Linked DNA regions of Homo sapiens: all the other regions are linked to region 4. Evidence: promoter capture Hi-C in 16 types of primary human blood cells and fetal thymus (Javierre and others, 2016). All regions are on one chromosome and are shown on one strand. Each heading gives the region's core, a stretch centred on a gene start or on the middle of the fragment in contact. The rest is flanking DNA. Distances are from core to core; before and after follow the strand shown. Region 1 overlaps ARID5A (AT-rich interaction domain 5A). Region 2 has its middle 26 kb from the start of ADRA2B. Region 3 has its middle 14 kb from the start of DUSP2. Region 4 holds the start of SNRNP200 (small nuclear ribonucleoprotein U5 subunit 200). Region 5 has its middle 11 kb from the start of ARID5A. Region 6 holds the start of ADRA2B (adrenoceptor alpha 2B).

The links. Contacts are between HindIII fragments. The CHiCAGO score rates a contact against its expected background, and 5 or more counts as called.
Region 1: a fragment that was not itself captured here is called in contact with the fragment with the promoter of SNRNP200 in region 4 in 5 of 17 cell types (naive CD8 T cells, monocytes, total CD8 T cells and 2 more); the score reaches 7.1 in naive CD8 T cells.
Region 2: a contact is called between a fragment that was not itself captured here and the fragment with the promoter of SNRNP200 in region 4, in 1 of 17 cell types (neutrophils). The highest score is 5.0, in neutrophils.
Region 3: a contact is called between a fragment that was not itself captured here and the fragment with the promoter of SNRNP200 in region 4, in 1 of 17 cell types (erythroblasts). The highest score is 5.8, in erythroblasts.
Region 5: a fragment that was not itself captured here is called in contact with the fragment with the promoter of SNRNP200 in region 4 in 7 of 17 cell types (activated CD4 T cells, naive CD8 T cells, naive CD4 T cells and 4 more); the score reaches 8.7 in activated CD4 T cells.
Region 6: the fragment with the promoter of ADRA2B here is called in contact with the fragment with the promoter of SNRNP200 in region 4 in 9 of 17 cell types (fetal thymus, M0 macrophages, M1 macrophages and 6 more); the score reaches 7.3 in fetal thymus.

Annotation. Positions count from the first base shown.
Region 1 is chr2:96,545,019-96,547,718 of GRCh38, reverse strand. ARID5A (AT-rich interaction domain 5A) reads right to left here. Exons shown (of 7, transcript NM_212481.3): 2 at 202-317. Among named protein-coding and RNA genes, the nearest start is that of ARID5A, 9.6 kb to the right of the region's middle. The HindIII fragment of the contact is 8,360 bases long and covers 1-2,700 here.
Region 2 is chr2:96,089,369-96,092,208 of GRCh38, reverse strand. No RefSeq gene overlaps it. Among named protein-coding and RNA genes, the nearest start is that of ADRA2B, 26 kb to the left of the region's middle. The HindIII fragment of the contact is 2,327 bases long and covers 261-2,587 here.
Region 3 is chr2:96,158,496-96,161,347 of GRCh38, reverse strand. No RefSeq gene overlaps it. Among named protein-coding and RNA genes, the nearest start is that of DUSP2, 14 kb to the right of the region's middle. RefSeq lists enhancers at 2,192-2,729, 2,738-2,852. The HindIII fragment of the contact is 2,954 bases long and covers 49-2,852 here.
Region 4 is chr2:96,304,276-96,307,014 of GRCh38, reverse strand. It overlaps SNRNP200 (small nuclear ribonucleoprotein U5 subunit 200), which reads left to right and starts at 1,469. Exons shown (of 45, transcript NM_014014.5): 1 at 1,469-1,622; 2 at 2,147-2,310. The coding sequence starts at 1,578. RefSeq lists enhancers at 1-388, 981-1,060, 1,310-1,604. The HindIII fragment of the contact is 15,934 bases long and covers 1-2,122 here.
Region 5 is chr2:96,524,720-96,527,419 of GRCh38, reverse strand. No RefSeq gene overlaps it. Among named protein-coding and RNA genes, the nearest start is that of ARID5A, 11 kb to the left of the region's middle. RefSeq lists a silencer at 1-220 and an enhancer at 2,553-2,700. The HindIII fragment of the contact is 1,660 bases long and covers 515-2,174 here.
Region 6 is chr2:96,115,234-96,118,080 of GRCh38, reverse strand. ADRA2B (adrenoceptor alpha 2B) reads left to right here and starts at 1,510. Exons shown (of 1, transcript NM_000682.7): 1 at 1,510-2,847. The coding sequence starts at 1,932. RefSeq lists silencers at 681-750, 791-1,250, 1,261-1,420, 1,521-1,610. The HindIII fragment of the contact is 8,066 bases long and covers 1-2,847 here.

The sequences.
Region 1 (2,700 bases), core at 200-2,699, 240 kb before region 4:
AAAGGGTTCTGCTACAAAAACCAAGATTGAAACTCTCTGCCACAGATGACAAGTAAGTCCCCTGGCTGCTGGGCAGGGCCAGGGTAGGAACATATCTCCCTCCTGAGAGCTTGGGGAGTGTCCAGGTTCACCTGGAGGCGGAGCACAGGTGAGGGTGGCAGGGAAGAGTGCCCAGGGAGTCAGCAGAGGGAGTCAACTCACCTCCAGCGAGATGGGGTTCTGGATTCCGTTCTGCTTGCCAGCAGGTTTGGGGGATGCAGGTGGGTCTAGGGCGTCACCCTCCGTGGACTGCTTCCTGTTCCCTTTGACAGGGGCTGCTGCAAGGAGAGAGGGAAGGAGTAAGGAGGAAGGGGTGGGGAGAGAGCATATGAGATGCAAGCAGGGAGGAACAGGAGCACTCTCCCTACTCCCAATTGGAGTTGCCAGAGGGCGCCAGTGCAGGGGCTCACTCCTGTGATCCCAGCACTTTGGGAGGCCCAGGCAGGCGATGACCTGAGGTCAGGAGTTCAAGACCTGTCTGGGCAACGTAGTGAGACCCCGTCTCTATTATTAAAAAAAAAAAAAGAATTGGCCAGGGGGAAGGGGTGTGTCCCTGGCTGCACATAGGCTACATGCACACACACACACAGGCCCTCCTCCCCGCTCCCCGACAACCCGCTGCATCCGCTCCACACCTGTCCCTTTTCTTTCCTCTGCTCCAACTATCTCCCCACATCTTTGAAGGAAACGCAAAACCACCTTGAGGTCAAGTCACAGGAGGCCGGGGTTGGGCTGTGGTGCTTGGGGAAATCCTGTCTCCAAAATCTGCCCCATGCTCAGACACAGAGTTGAGAAGCAGCTTAGTCTCACTGGAGAGCTAAAGGATCCCATGGCTGTGGCCCCAAAGCAACACAGGGGTCCCTGGGTAGTAGTTCCTCTGGGAATATTCAGGAATATCTGACCTTTCCCTGAGCATCTGCAGAGTTCTAACTGCCCTAATAAGGCCACATGCTCTCCTCACCTACAAGGGTCCTGGTGACCCCTCAGGTCTCTGCTGACAAGTGCCTTCCTCTGGGTGGCCTCCTCTGGCCCCTGGCCACGGGCAGCTCCTCCCTCGCCCTAGGCTACTCACAGCCATCCTGGCTGAACTGCCTGTGGCTCCTGGGGCTCCCTGATAGTTCGGTGAGGCTTCCCATACCCCACACAGCAGGTGCCAAGCTGGAATGAGCAAGGCTCACAACAACCCTGCGTGGTGGGCAGGAGAAGCCATGGGCTGTATTTTACTAAGAACCACCATGTGCTGATGGTTGCAAAAACGCAACACCTCTGCCACTGCAAAAACCACAACCACTGGAAACTGCCTGAGGCCACACAGCAGGCTGGCAGCAGATACCAGACCAGGAACCCACATCTTCTGACAACCTTTTCTTTCTGTCCTTTGTTCTTTTGTTAATCAAGTATGAATTGGTTCACTCCCTCCCAGGACATCCTTATTGTTAGGAACCTATGAGATTTCCCTTCCATCCCAGACAGAAAAAGAATCTCCTCAGGAACAAGAAACCCAAACCAGCGTAAGCCAGGGGCCAGTGGTACTCAGAGGCACAGGGTAGAATCCTTGGCCACTGAGTGGTCCTGCTTTGGTAGGTGTTCTTATGTCTTCCCTCCATGTTGATGGCTGCTGACTGATTTCAGGGTGGTGGTTTCTTGGGCTGGGGTGACTGTGGCAATTTCTTAAAATAAGACAACAATGAAGTTTGCCACATCCATTAACTCTTTTTTTTTTTTTGAGTCAGAATCTTGCTCTGTTGCCCAGGCTGGAGTGCAGTGGCGTGATCTTGGCTCACTGCAATCTTCGCCTCCCAGGTTCAAGTGATTCTCCTGCCTCAGCCTCCCGAGTAGCTGGGACTACAGGTGCGTGCCACTAAGCCCGGCTAATTTTTGTATTTTTAGTAGAGACGGGGTTTCACCATATTGGCCAGACTGGTCTCAAACTCCTGACCTCATGATCCACCCACCTCGGCCTCCCAAAGTGCTGGGATTACAGGCATGAGCCACTGCACCTGGCAACTCTTCCTTTCATGAAAGACTTCTCCATGGCATGCATGTGATGCTATTTTTGACAGCATTTTATCCACAGCAAAACTTTCAAAACTGATGTCCCTCCTCTCAAACCCTGCTGCTGCTTTATCAACTAAGTTTCTGTAACATTCTAAATCCTTTGTTGTCATTTTGACAATGTTCACAGCATCTTCGCCAGTAGATTCCACCTCAAGAAGCCACTTTAGGATGGGCGCGGTGGCTCACGCCTGTAATCCCAGCACTTTGGGGGCCAAGGTGGGTGGATCACCTGAGGTCAGAAGTTTGAGACCAGCCTGGCCAACGTGGCGAAACCCTGTCTCTACTAAAAACACAAAAGTCAGCTGGGTGTGGTGGCAGGTCCCAGTAGTCCCAGCAACTCAGGAGGCTGAGGCAGGAGAATCCTTTGAACCTAGGAGGCGGAGGCTGCAGTGAGCTGAGATTACTCCACTGTACTCCAGTCTGGGCGATGGAACAAGACTCTGTCTCAAAAAAAAAAAAAAAAAAGAAAAAGAAAAAGAAAAGAAAAGGAAAGAAAAAAAAAGAAGAAAAAAAGTCACTTTCTTTGCCCACCCATAAAAAGCAACTCCTCATCCACTCAAGTTTGATCATGAGATTGCAGCAATTCAGTCTCATCCTCAAGCT
Region 2 (2,840 bases), core at 175-2,674, 210 kb after region 4:
TGCCATCAGGGTTGGGCACTGGGGAAATCCCACAGGGGCCACACCCATCTCCTTTTGCAAAGCCTGGAAGGGCCTGGAGGGGACAGAAGAGGGAGAGGTGTTGTTACCAGGCAGCATTGAGTGGGAATGGGTGCGAGGAGGTTTACAGGAGCCAGCGTGTAACTGCACACCAGGTGTTCCCATACGTCAGGAAACGCCTCTCCGCTCCAGCTAAGGAAGCCAAGATCCAGGGCCCGATTCCCTGCCTGCCTCACCAAGCTTCCCCTGGGGAGGGCACCACCCCCACCACCTGGCTCCTTTCACACTGCCCCGTGCGACCGACCCATGGCTCCAGGAGAGGGGGTTTAGAGTCAGGGACCAGCTCCTGGCAGTGGTTCTCAGAAGCTGCCAGCCTCCCAGCCTCTCAAATGGCCCTGCCGAGGTCTGCCCTCGGTCTCCTGTTCAAGCCCCTACCCTAACGAGGCTGCTGGGAGACGGTTTCCCTGCAGGGCACATGCAGTCTGGATGACTGGCTCCTTGCCGGGCCTGAGTGATGTCCCCGGCGCCTGCAATGAACCAAATGTGGTTATCCGTGCCTCTGCCCCTGCTGGCTCCCAGAAGCTGGCAATAGAATTATAGCCTCACGTCTGCCCTCCGCTGCCTTCCCCTCGGCCTTCCCCTCAGCTGCATTCTGGGGCGGAGCTGGGTGTCCTGCCTATTGTCCCTGTTGGGAAGGCATGGCTGAGGCTTGGGTGGCCAGGATTTCATGATGGGCTGGGAAGGAGGAGGATGAGCGCTGGAGCAGGGGTCCAGAGACTCAGCCTGGGGTCCCCAAGGGCTCTGGGCTGCTCACAAGAACTGCAGGCCTGGTCACCTCGCCCCTGCCTCCCCGACGCTCTCTCCTCGGCAGTCTTATCTCTCTGCAACCCAGGCTTGCCCAGGGCACTTCCCTCCTGAAAGCCTGTTGGTGGCTCCTGGCTGCCCACAGGACAAAGTCCAGGCGCCACCCCAGTTACTTGCCATTCCCCAGGGTGCCCAGTTCCTCCCTGGTGCATGAAGGGCAGTAGCCTCTGGCTAAGGACACAGGCCCAGGATCAGCTGCTCAGGGATGTACCATCCAGAGTCCCCTGACATCCTGGGTGTCCCCCTCTTCCTGGTGTCCCCCTCTTCCTGACCACCCTGAGACCACATTTCCCAGCCCCCTTGATCTAGGCATGAGTTGGGCCAATGGAAAGGGGGTGGAAGAGAGACGTACGCCACATCCACTTGGCCCATGAAAGTCTCCCAAGCAGGATCCTTTACTCAGTTTCCCTTTTGTTGCAAGCATGCAGGCCACAAGCTAAAGATGGTAGCACTAGAGAATAAATAGAGCCTGGGTCCCTGAATCACCACTTGGATTCACCCTAGACTGTGACATGAGCAAGAAATCAGCCTGTGCTCAGCTGCAGAGATCTGGGATTCTTTGTTCTAGCAGTTCGCTTACTCTGACTCACAAAAACCTTAGGAGTAACGGTGTGCAAGTGGTGTAACATGAGACCACTTTTCTCGTCTGTGAAATGAGATAATAATGCCTACGTTGAAAAATGTTGGGAAAGATGGACCATCAGGCACCTGGCCCTTAGTAAGCCCTCAGTACTTAAAGCTATTTTGCAATTTCTAGGCCTTTGCATGTCTCTTCCCTATCCTGGCCTTTTCTTCCCAGCCGGCTGCATTCTGGGCCTCCTTCTAGGCTCACTGCTCTAGGAGGCCTTTCTGAGCCCCCAGCTTCCACTCTCCTCCTGGGCCTGGGACTTGCAGCCTGGGGACACACCAGCTGGAGCACTTCCCTTGCGGCACCATTCTCAGTTATCTATCTGTCTGCCTCTCCCTGGACTGGGTCCCACATGCAGCCAGTGCAAAGCCCGGCACAAAACAGGGCCCATAAGTGGCTCTTTCATTTGTTAGCGAGGCTGAGCCTGCCTGTCTCAGGCCGGGGCTGGTGCTGTGAGGCGGACTGAGGCCCTGAATGTGAAACCGCGTTGGAAAATGGAAAAGTCTCCCAGACTCTCAGGAGCAGGTTCCCTGGCCCAGAGCACACTCGAGCCCCTGCCCTGCCACAGCCCCTCTCTCAGGAGCCCCTTCTGCCGCAGTTCCCTTTTCTGCCTGTTTTTCTGTCTCGGAGACTCAGTGTCAGCAGTTGTCAAGACAAATGGCACCAAGCAGGACTCAGGTGAGGCCTGGAATCCGCACCAGGGCCCCTCGCAGTTCTCCACCTGCCACGCTGCAGCCCCTGCTAGCTGCTGACCAGATGCAGCTGAGGACAGCCGAATGAGAACAGAGGCCGCCAGAGAGCAAGGGACTCTCATGGCCAGTGCTGGACACAAGCCAGCCTGGGGGTGGTGCCGACAGCAGCCTTGCTTGGCTCTCCCTCCTGCTCACCCTCCACCCTCCACCCTCCGTCTTTGCTTCCTCCCAGGTGCAGGGGGTCAGGAGTGTGTGGGCTCCCTCATTTGTCCCTGTGCAGCGTGGGGTGGGAGCGAGACACCTAAAGGCTTGTAGGGAGCCACCCACAGGAGGCAGGGGGCGGAGGAAGGAAGGGAGGTGGCACCTGGCCCAGGTGCGGAAAGCTTGTACCCCTGGACCTATGGTTCCGACTCAGCTGTGACCTGGGCCTGTGAAAGGACTGGAGGGGAGCTGGGCATGGGGCCAAGCCTGGCGTGGCTGGGAAAGAGGACCCAGCCTGCCGCTCGAGGCCACTGCCAGTGCCCAGGTAAGTCTGGGAAGAGGAGCCCCGGCTGGACCATGAGGCCCCATTTCCCCCTCACGTTTCTTCCTCACTCCCTCGAACATGCTCTGGATCACAGGTAGTGCCGGTGTAGAGG
Region 3 (2,852 bases), core at 276-2,775, 150 kb after region 4:
TTTTCTCTCCAACTTTTATTTTAGGTTCAGAGGGTATGTGTGCAAGCTTGTGACATGGGTAAATTGCACGTTATGGGGGTTTGGTGTACAGATTTTTTCGTCACCCCAGTAATAAGGATAGTACTAGACAGGTAGTTTTTCGACCCTCACCCTCCTCGTCCACCTCAAGTAGGCTCCATGTGTGCTCAACGTTTAGCTCCCACTTATAAGTGAGAACTTGCGGTATTTGGTTATCTATTCCTGCATTAATTTGCTTAGGATGATGGCCTCCACCTCCATCCGTGTTGCTGCAAAGGACTTGATCTCCTTTTTTATGGCTGTGTAATCTTCCATGGTATATATGCACCACATTTTCTTTATCCAGTCCACCGTTGATGGGCATTTAGGTTTATTCCTCCTCCTTGCTGTTGTGCATAGTGCTGTAATGAGCATTCACGTGCATGTGTCTTTGTGGTAGAATGATTTATGTTCCTTTGGGTACATACTCAGTAATGAATTGCTGGGTCAAATGATAGTTCTGCTTTAAGTTCTTGGAGAAATCTCCAAACTGCTTTCTACAGTGGCTGAACTAATTTACATTCCCACTGGCAGCATGGAAGTGTTCTCTTTTCTCTACAACCTCTCCAGCATCTGTTATTTTTTGACTTTTTAATAGTAGCCATTCTGACTGGTGTGAATTGTTATCTCATTGTGGTTTCGATTTGCCTTTCTCTAATAATTAGTGATACTGACCATTTTATTCATATGCTTGTTGGCCATATGTATGTCTTCTTTTGAGAAGTGTCTGTTCATGGCCTTTGCCCATTTTTATTATTTTTATTTTTTATTTTTTTGAGAGAGAGTCTTGCTCTGTCACCCAGGCTAGAGTGCAGTGGCGAGGTCTCGGCTCACTGCAACCTCTGCCTTCTGGGTTGAAGTGATTCTCCTGCCTCAGCCTCCCAAGTAGCTAGCTGGGGCTACAGGCGCGAGCCACCACAGCTGGCTAATTTTTGTATTTTTAGTAGAGACAGGGTTTCACATATTGGCCAGGCTGGTCTCTTGAACTCCTGACCTCAAGTGGTCTGCCTGCTTTGGCCTCCAAAAGTGCTGGATTACAGGCATGAGCCATTGTACCCAGCCCTTTGTCCATTTTTTAAATGGGGTTGTTTTTTGCTTGTTAATTTAAGTTCCTTATAGATTCTGGATATTAGAACTTTGTTGGATGCATTGTTTGCAAATATTTTCTCTTGTTCTGTAGGTTGCCTGTTTACTCTGTTGATGGTTTCTTTTGCTGTGTAGAAGCTGTTTAGTTTAATTAGGTCCCATTTGTTAATTTTTGGTTTTGTTCCAATTGCTTTTGGAGTCTCTGCCAGGGCTTGTGTCCAGAATGGTATTTCCTAGGTTTTCTTCTAGGGTTTTTATAGTTTTTATATGCTGGGAGTTCTGGGGAGGAGAGCCTGCATACCAGCCTGAGCTCCTAGTCCCCACTTAACCCTGGGCCACTGTCCTGTCAGCCAAATCGAACTGCTACCGACATACCTGGGTGCCACTGAAAGGTTTCCAGCAGAGCAATTTAGAAACTTAGAAAGTTCATTCTGGATGCTACAGGAGGAGGGGCGAGGCTGGAACCAGGATAGAGGTGGGGTCTCTCAACTCCCTCCAGCCAAAGACCACGAGGAACACAGCTGTAGTTGAACAAATCGGGCATATTTGCAGCGAGGGCAAACACACAGTACCAGGAACCGTGGGCGTCTGGGCAGGATGTGTGAGAAAGCACCTGTGCCACAGGCTGGGCTGTCCTGTGTCCTTGATGTGTTGTGGAGAATTGGACTCCACCTCTTGATAGAAGAGCGTCAAAATGTTGTAGTCATTTTTGCACTGTACCACAAGGCCATTCTTCTTTTTTGGGCTGGGAGAACAAGGAGAGGGAAGATGTTGTCAGAGTCTGGGACAGCGAGGGCTGTGAAGAGGGGCCGAGCTATGGGAACGGGAGTCCCAGAGGGACCCAGCCCGGCCCACACCTTGGTGTCAGGGCAGAGGAGGAGCAGGGATAGAAGTCCTCGAGACTCTTTCCCCACTTCGCCTCCTGGTGCCTTCTGGCTGAGTAGTCAGGAAGCAGAGAGTGAGAGATCCCACCTGACTGTCCGTGCATGGCAGCCTGTGGGCCCAGAGCAGGGAGGAGAACGGGTCTGGGAAGGGGAAGGGGACAGAGAGTAACCAGCAAAGCCACTGCATTCCCAGAGCCCAGAGCGGTGCCTGGCGCATAAGAGCTGCTCCACAAATATGTGTTGAATGGCTGAGTCTCACGGAGGTCTTAGTTCTGGGCAGCGCCCCTCTAATGTGTGTGATCCTCCTGGGGAAATTCCAGGGTGGAGGAGGAGAAGTTTATTGAAGGGGCAAGAAGGGGCTGGGGCCAAAAACAGTCAGCAACACCCTCTCGTGACCCAGCTCCTGGCTCTCTCGCGACTCTTCTTGCCGCTGATGTGACTGGGCTGTCCCAGTGCAGACTCTCTGGACCTCACTGGCCAGGGTCTGAGGGCCTCCTGCCAAGCTAGGACAAGAAGGGGCTGTGCAGGCGGCCAGGCCCCCTGGGTCCACCTTGGACTCCTGGATCCCCCGTGCCCTGAGCCTCTCAGCAAGCCTTGCCCGAGCCCGTGCTGGGCAGCAGGTCCCGAGGCGGCCCTCTCGGGAGCAGACGGCTGCAGTGCACCAGCATGGATTTCTTCTGTCCCAGCACCTGCTGCATGGAGCCTACAGAAGGGGCTGCCGATCAGGGAAAGGAGGAAGGTTCTCTTAGCATAAGCAGCCCGGAGATGCACGAGGAAGGGGCCCAGCTAGGTGGGGCAGGGGGGCACTGTCTGTGACGCTCCCCC
Region 4 (2,739 bases), core at 220-2,719:
ACAGGCACCCACTACCACGCCTGGCTAATTTTTGTATTTTTAGTAGTGACAGGGTTTCACCATGTGGGCCAGGCTGGTCTCAAACTCCTGACCTCAAGTGATCCGCCTGCCTTGGCCTCCCAGAGTGCTGGGATTACAGGCGTGAGCCAGCGTGTCCAGCCAATTGCCTCAATTTTAAGGATGAGGAAAATGGTGCTCACCGAGAGGCCAGGTAGCTAGCTACTTCAAAGTCACACAGCCACTGAGGAGCAGAGCCATGAGGACTCGACTGTCCCTTGGGAAGACGAGTTATTAAAAAAAAAACAAACACCCACCAAAGCAGCAAACTCCATGCCTACAGGGGCTGGGCAAGTAAAAATAAGGAGATGGGCAGGCATGAGAAAACAGGAGCAGTGGGAAGGACTTGCCTATTCTCTGACCTTGGCAGCTGCTGACCAGCAGCAGGTCATGCCATGCAGCAGTGTGGGTGTCATGTGGCTGATTTTCTAGTATCTCAACTGATGGGGGAGAGCCAGAGTTTGCATGAAATTATCCCAATTTTTAAAGAAGGAGCCAACAGTGAGCCAAACACGATACCACTACAGAACAAATCTGGTCTAGGGGACTGCTATTGAGGATGAATTCCTTTGGCTTAACACCCATCCTCCTGTTCATTCATCTTCTCAAAAGCAAACATGCTCTAAGTGAGGAGGGAGGTCACCTTCAGCCATAAGGCGCCATTCTACTGGCGAGAAGTGGTGGGGAATGTGGGACAGAGAAGACTTTGTAGCTGGGGAAGAAATTAAGTCATAGTCACCAAGGATTTGGCCCTGCCTTCACCGGTTTCCCTGGGCGGCAGGGAGGGCCCTACCATAGAATGTTACCGACAAGTGGGAGCAAATGGGGGCCCCGGCCCTGTTCGTTCAGCTGGGTGAAAACGAGGGTCTTGGGGGCACAGGTTTAGGTGGGATTGGTGGGGGATAGTAGCTTTCTTTTTCAATTGTTGAACACAGAAGAGAAACCCAAAGCAAGGCGCCAATCATTAAAACACACAAACACAGACACACGCGCAAGTCACCTTGCTCGCTGGGTACTTTAGTTACCTCAAACGGAAATGGGGTTTTCGGCCCCTCTTTTCCTGCCTACCTCATGGGACTGTTGCCAAAGAGGAAGGAACCGGAAGGAAAGGTCTTGGGACAGGACAGGGGCTAAGCAGCCGTGCATTCGTTATGATGTGAGGGGTGCCGGGGGCTGGAGACTGAGGTCGGGGAGAGCACGGGCCCTGGGTCCTTAGTGCCAGCGGGCGGCCAGAACCAGAGTGCGGGGGTCTAGGGATTCGGGGACCCAGACGCACCAGGCCCACATATCCCGCTCAGAAGGGTGCGGAAAGCCGCGCGCACACGGCAGGGACACGCCCCAGACACGCCCCGCCCCGCACTTCTGGGGCGCGACCCGGAAGCGGAAGGGAACCCGTTTCTTTTCCTTCCCCAGTGCGTCTTTCCTGCGTCGTTCCGGCGCGGCGGGAGCAGAGATCTGCGGCCGTTTGCAGCTTGCGGTAGGGAGGCGTGGTGGTCTGAAGCCTCCGAGCAGCCGCGGCCATGGCGGATGTAACCGCCCGTAGTCTGCAATACGAGTACAAGGCGGTGCGTTTGGTCTTGGGGAAGGATTCCAGGCTCAGGAGTCCAATGGGGAGGGGGAGGCTGAAAAAGGGAGTTTCAGTCTGAAGGCCTACAGGAGAGCCACGAAAACGAAGGGGAAATGGAATCGGGGTGAAGGTGGGGGTTATACGATGACGTGAATAACCTACTGGGGTCTGGGGAGCGCTAAGATCTCTCTAGGAGGAGTTTCTCGAGTACCTTCAACGCTAAGCCCTCCCCCTTCCACACGTCACTCCCAACCCACTCACTACTTTTCACAGGTGTGGGTTATGATGGGCGCTGTTAGGAACAAGAATTGTTTAGCTGATTCGACAGCGCATAAGACTTATTCAGCTGTACGCTTCTGCACAGCGTTATACTATGCAATTCTTAAGGAAAATATATTTTTATTACGATTAGTGATGATAAGCAACTAGTTACTACGATTTTTTCCATCAGCTGGGGTAACTATGATAGTAGGAATTGGCCCTGCTCATGTCAAAGCTTCAATAATGTTTTGATCTTTTCAGAACTCGAATCTTGTGCTCCAAGCTGACCGTTCTCTCATTGACCGGACCCGCCGGGATGAACCCACAGGAGAGGTGCTGTCCCTTGTTGGGAAGCTGGAGGGCACCCGTATGGGAGACAAGGCTCAACGGACCAAACCGCAGATGCAGGAGGAAAGAAGAGCCAAGTGAGTGCCAAGGGGATACTATTTTTTCCTTCAGATCCAAAGTCTCTTCCCTTTAACATTCGAGCAGCATTTTTGCTGGAATGCTTGGTGTAAGATCAGTGGCATTAAAACAATTCAGTGAAGGTAAAAACAGACCAGGAGAGTTTAAAGATTTTTTGGCCTTAACAAGTGCATCTCAAGTGGAAAATAACTTGTTGGTACCTTTTTCTTACATGTGTGTTTCTGGTCCATAGACAGATCTTAATTTTCTTCAGGGTATTTTCAAGACCCTTGCTATTCCTATGTCCCAGTAATTCGTTTTCCTTTTTTCCCATTACTAACTTCCTACCCCTACTTTTTCCATTTACTCTTGTCCACGTTCTACCTATTTTGTTGTAACAAACTAATTTAAGCATCCATAGTATGAAAGACAGGTTTCTTTCTTAGTTT
Region 5 (2,700 bases), core at 95-2,594, 220 kb before region 4:
CGGGCCCCGCCGAAAGCCCCGGGCCCCATCCATCTTCGCCACCGAAAGGGGCAGGAAGAGCAGCTGAGAGGAGGGCGCCTCCTCCAGCCCCGCAGGCTCTGCTGCCGGACCGTCGTGTCCCTCCCGAGGCCTTCCCCTGCCTGTCCCAGCGGGCCCTGCTCTCTCGGGTTCTCAGGACGTTGGGCAGACCCCTTAGGCCTCTTTTCTAGCAGCACGCACATTCCTGCACACCTCCGCATGTGAAGTTTTTCTGGAAGTATCATGTGGACACTTTTGGAGGCCTACACCCACTCTTAGAGGTGTCTGGCGTCCCATTGCAGGGGCGTTCCGTCTTTTGAAGTTGAAGAATTGTCTTGGACCATACGTAAAATACACTAACACTACCGACAGCCGGTGAGCTAAAAGAAAAAATCGCGAAAATACCTCAGTGTTCTAAGAAAGCTTTATGAATTTGGGCCGCATTCAAAACCTTCCTCAGTCACATGCCGCCCTTGGGCCACGCGTTGGACAAGCTTGCATCCTAGAGACCAATGCGAAATTAACTCGAAAAGAAAGAACCGCTCGGGCCGATTCAACACCCCTGTCACCTATCCTCACCCACGATTTCACTCCCAGGCCCCTTGGCCTGGCGGCGCTTGCCCTTTGGCCAGCGTCCTAGAGGTCACAGTGAGGCCCAAATGAACGGGGTTTTACCGAACCGACATGCCCAGGAGAGAAACATGGATCTATACAGAGAGGCTAATCATTTGTTTCAAGCTGAATTGCCAGGGTGGAGTGGGTGGGGTGGGCCCAGGGGCTCCCCTCCGCTCCCCCCGCAACCCCTGTGTCCAGTCTGAGGTGCCTGTATGCATTCTCTTCAGGTCCCCACCTTCAGTCTGAAGCAGGGAGCCGGGCTTTGCAGGTGCAGAAGCTCTCTGGCTCTGGGAGCCTGCTGGACTCAAGTTCATTCTGACCTCAGGACAGGTGTGGGCAGGAGATGCTGACGGCTGGTTTTCCTGGGCCGCCCAGAACACCTGGCCTCTCAGCTGTCTCAGCACAAAATTCGCCCTGTAAGCAGGACCCTCCTGAGCTCCCAGAAGGGCCAGGCACATAGCTGCTGTCACCGGTAACAGTCCTGCAGACAGCGAGACGGCTGTGACACAGTGCTGCACACAAAGCCTGGCTGCTGCCCGCCATATGCAAGGACAGGCACCAAACACAGCCTAGGTCAGGGACCTGCGGGGTCAGCTGAGCGTGTGAGGAGGACTCAGGTGCCTGCAATCCCTGCCTCCCTGCCACAGCGTGATGCTACAGGGTGGCCCGGCAGGACTGGGTCATTACAGCTCCTGACCTACCAGAGGACCTAGTGTCACCCCCCACTCAGTTGTCACATTGCTGGGGAGTCTGAAGAGGGGGAAGGCACCAGGGTGGTCCCAGCCATGCTGGGACTTGGAGCAGTCCCTAGTACTGACACTGAAGTATGTCAATATCACAATAAGTGGCTTAGAGGGGGTGGCATTGACTGTTAATCCCAAGGGATGAAGGGAATACCTCGCTCCTGGAAGAAAGCTGGGAGCATCTCTCTGTTTTTTTTTTTTTTTTTTTTTTGAGACAGGGTCAGTCTGAAGTGCAGTGGTGCAATCTCAGCTCACTGCAGCCTTGGACTCCTAGGCTTAGGTGATTCTCGCACTTCAGCCTCCCAGGCAGCCACGACCATAGGCATGCACCACCATGCCTGTCTAATCTTTTAAAAAATTTTATGGAGGTGGGATCTTGCTATGTTGCCCAGACTGGTCTTGAACTCCTGGGCTCAAGTGATCCACCCACTTTGGCCTCCCAAAGTGCTGGGATTATAGGCGTGAGCCACTGCACCAGGCTACATCTCCATTTTAAGATGCTGAGTGGGCACTTGGAGGAAGGACAAGAAGCAGAGTGGGTCCTGCTATATTGTGTACATTCTGGAAGTCCTCACTGCCCTGGTACCCAGACTTAGGTCTGTCACTCAGGAGTGGCAAGGGCTGCCCTAGGTCTGGCCCAGAAGTCCTCTGAGCTCCTGCTTAGAGTGCCATAGTGCCATGCCAGTGGTATGGAGGGGCTTGAGCACACTCGGGCTTATGCACACATGTGTCCCGTGGACTGTCTGGGTGCGTCTCCATGTGGGAGAGCATTCTGCCTTCTTGCATGGCAGCAAAGCTTTCGTAGGAACTCTAACCCTGTTGAAGGGAAGTAGGGAAATGAGGAGTGTCTGAGACACCAGGCTGCCTGCTCAGTCTTTCAGAGGTAGGAGAGAAGCCTGCAGAGGTCTCAGGGCTCACTTCCGCTTCCCATGAAGGCTCCCACCTGGGATCCCCAAGGTCCAAGAGCCCTCTGGAGGGAGGACCTCTCCTAAAGGGCGGCAGCCTGGGATCATCAACCAGTCCATGAAATTTCCCTCCGAGCCCTTTACAGTTCACTGTGCCCTGATTTTACAGATGGGAAAACCAAGGCCCAGAGAGGGAAAGTGGTGTGCTCAAAGCCACACTGTGGATCAGGGGCGGGGCACGGTCTGGTGCCTGCCAGCGTCCTGCGTTTCTTCCCACACTGCAGTCAGGAGAGGGAGGTGGCCGGGCAACCCTGGATCTGCTGCCCTCGGGCAGTTAGGGGTGGGGAGGGAACTCCAATGGATGCTGTGCCCCTAGCAGCAGTGGCTGCTTCACATCCCGTCCTTGGCCAGTTGTTTTG
Region 6 (2,847 bases), core at 261-2,760, 190 kb after region 4:
CAAGGAGGCACCTACTCCCAACACACCCCCGTGGCTGGGGGTGCTGGTCTGGGTACCTGAGACGGGGCACCTCCCACCTGAGCCTGGGGAGGCGCTAGACATTGTCCGTGGGCACTGAGAGGCCACGTGCTCTGCTCCCATGGAGGGAGCAGGGAGGAGAGGAGGTCCAGCAGGTTGGACGGGGCCTGGGGGAGCCCCACTGTCAGAGGTGGATTGGTGCTTATTTATACAGAGGATGCCTTGCAGAGTCGTGGGCTGTGAATAAGAGGCCTGGCTCGAGGCGGGGCTTATGACATTAGGGGCTCCAGAACCGGGGAAACATGCCCTCAGGGCTGCCCAGGCTGGTGCTGGTGGCGGTGTGGCAGGGAGAGTGAGTTGGGGCCCTGAGGGAGAACAGTTGCTCATAGCGCTTTGAAGGCGAGTGGGGGGCCTTAGTCTGAAGTTTCTTTTTACCCCAACCCTCTTTCCACTGTCACCCCCAGAAGGGCTTCAGTGTGTATGTGGGGCAGGACCGCAGCAGGGAGGGAGGGTCAACCCCTTCCCCCGGGGTCACTACAGAAGCGGAGGGACGCTCCTCTCTTCACGGCTGCCCCTGAGACCTGCTTTTTCTCGGAGCTGTGTGACAAAGTCCCCACCCTTTACTCCCCCACGGCAAGGAAGGGACCTCCCCTTCGCATTAGTCAAGGGGCGGCAGCTCGCCCTGTGCCCCGTACAAACCCTTGGCTGAATCGCAGTTGATGCTGTGATTCGAGTCCAAGCCAGTTTCCCTGTTACCTCCTTTGCCCTTAATGGAGGAAACTGAGGCAGCTGCGGAGACACAAGAAGCCGAAGTCCTAAGACCCAGGCTGCGAGCGCTGGCTCCGGGACCCGGGCTGCCGCTGACGGGCTGGGCCCGCGGGCGGCAGCAGGGGGCGCTCGCAGGCCGGGACGCGCCCTCCTCGCGCGGCGCTGGCCCGACGGAGCTGGTCCGCGAGGGGCAGCGCCTGGGAAAGGGTCGGGACCGGCTCCCCGCTCCCCGCTCCCCCACCTCTCCGCAGGGCGTCTCCACGGCCGAGCCGGGCGGGGTTGTGGTGTATTGCGACCCGGCGCCCCAGCCCCACGCCCGCCCTGCCCTCCCTGCGGGCTCCCGAGCGGCGGAAGGCAGAGCAGGGCGCACCGGCGCCGGGCCCAGCCCGGTTCCCCCGGGAGAAGTGTCCCGTCCCGGTGCCGGCCCGCGCGCTAGCTCCGCGTCCCGGCTCCCGGCACCCACCGACCCCTCCACAGCTGCGCGCGTCCTGCCTGGGGGCCGGAGACCCCGGCCGCCGGGCCCCTCCGCTCTCCCGAGGCGCGGCCGCCGGGAGGAAGGCAGGTAGAGGCGCTGGGCGGGGTCCGGGCGCGGGAAGTCCCGGGCTCACGCCTCCCGCGAAGCGCACCTTCAGCCCACCTCGGTCCGCCCACCGCCCCGCCTCCCGCCCGCTCCCGCGCCCGCCTCCAGTCTCCGCCTTCCTCCAGCCGCTCTCCCCGCTCCCCACTCCCCTGCAGGCGCGGCTGGGGCGAAAGCCTGCGAGCTGAGCGGGCGCAAGGTCCTCCGCGCCTCCTTTAAGAACCGGCCCAGCCCGGCCCGCGCCCCCAGAGCGTACGGCATCCGCGTGGCGGGAGGGCGCGACTTTCTCCGGTCCCGGGCGGGACGGGGACGGCGGCGGGACAACTTGGGAAACTTCTCTGGGGCGGACGGCAGGGACCCCGGGCACCGGTGGAGGAGGATGTAGGAGGGCGGCTGCTGGTCCTGGGTGTTCCCGACCTCCTAGGCCCCGCTCGTCCAGGCCATGGGGCTCCAGCGCCCTCGGCGCCGCCCGAGGGGCGACGCTCTTGTCTAGCCGAGCCGGGCAGCGCTGTCGTCCACGGTGCGCACTGGGCGGGCAGCGCTCCCTCTGCCCACCTCCCGCCCCGTCATGGACCACCAGGACCCCTACTCCGTGCAGGCCACAGCGGCCATAGCGGCGGCCATCACCTTCCTCATTCTCTTTACCATCTTCGGCAACGCTCTGGTCATCCTGGCTGTGTTGACCAGCCGCTCGCTGCGCGCCCCTCAGAACCTGTTCCTGGTGTCGCTGGCCGCCGCCGACATCCTGGTGGCCACGCTCATCATCCCTTTCTCGCTGGCCAACGAGCTGCTGGGCTACTGGTACTTCCGGCGCACGTGGTGCGAGGTGTACCTGGCGCTCGACGTGCTCTTCTGCACCTCGTCCATCGTGCACCTGTGCGCCATCAGCCTGGACCGCTACTGGGCCGTGAGCCGCGCGCTGGAGTACAACTCCAAGCGCACCCCGCGCCGCATCAAGTGCATCATCCTCACTGTGTGGCTCATCGCCGCCGTCATCTCGCTGCCGCCCCTCATCTACAAGGGCGACCAGGGCCCCCAGCCGCGCGGGCGCCCCCAGTGCAAGCTCAACCAGGAGGCCTGGTACATCCTGGCCTCCAGCATCGGATCTTTCTTTGCTCCTTGCCTCATCATGATCCTTGTCTACCTGCGCATCTACCTGATCGCCAAACGCAGCAACCGCAGAGGTCCCAGGGCCAAGGGGGGGCCTGGGCAGGGTGAGTCCAAGCAGCCCCGACCCGACCATGGTGGGGCTTTGGCCTCAGCCAAACTGCCAGCCCTGGCCTCTGTGGCTTCTGCCAGAGAGGTCAACGGACACTCGAAGTCCACTGGGGAGAAGGAGGAGGGGGAGACCCCTGAAGATACTGGGACCCGGGCCTTGCCACCCAGTTGGGCTGCCCTTCCCAACTCAGGCCAGGGCCAGAAGGAGGGTGTTTGTGGGGCATCTCCAGAGGATGAAGCTGAAGAGGAGGAAGAGGAGGAGGAGG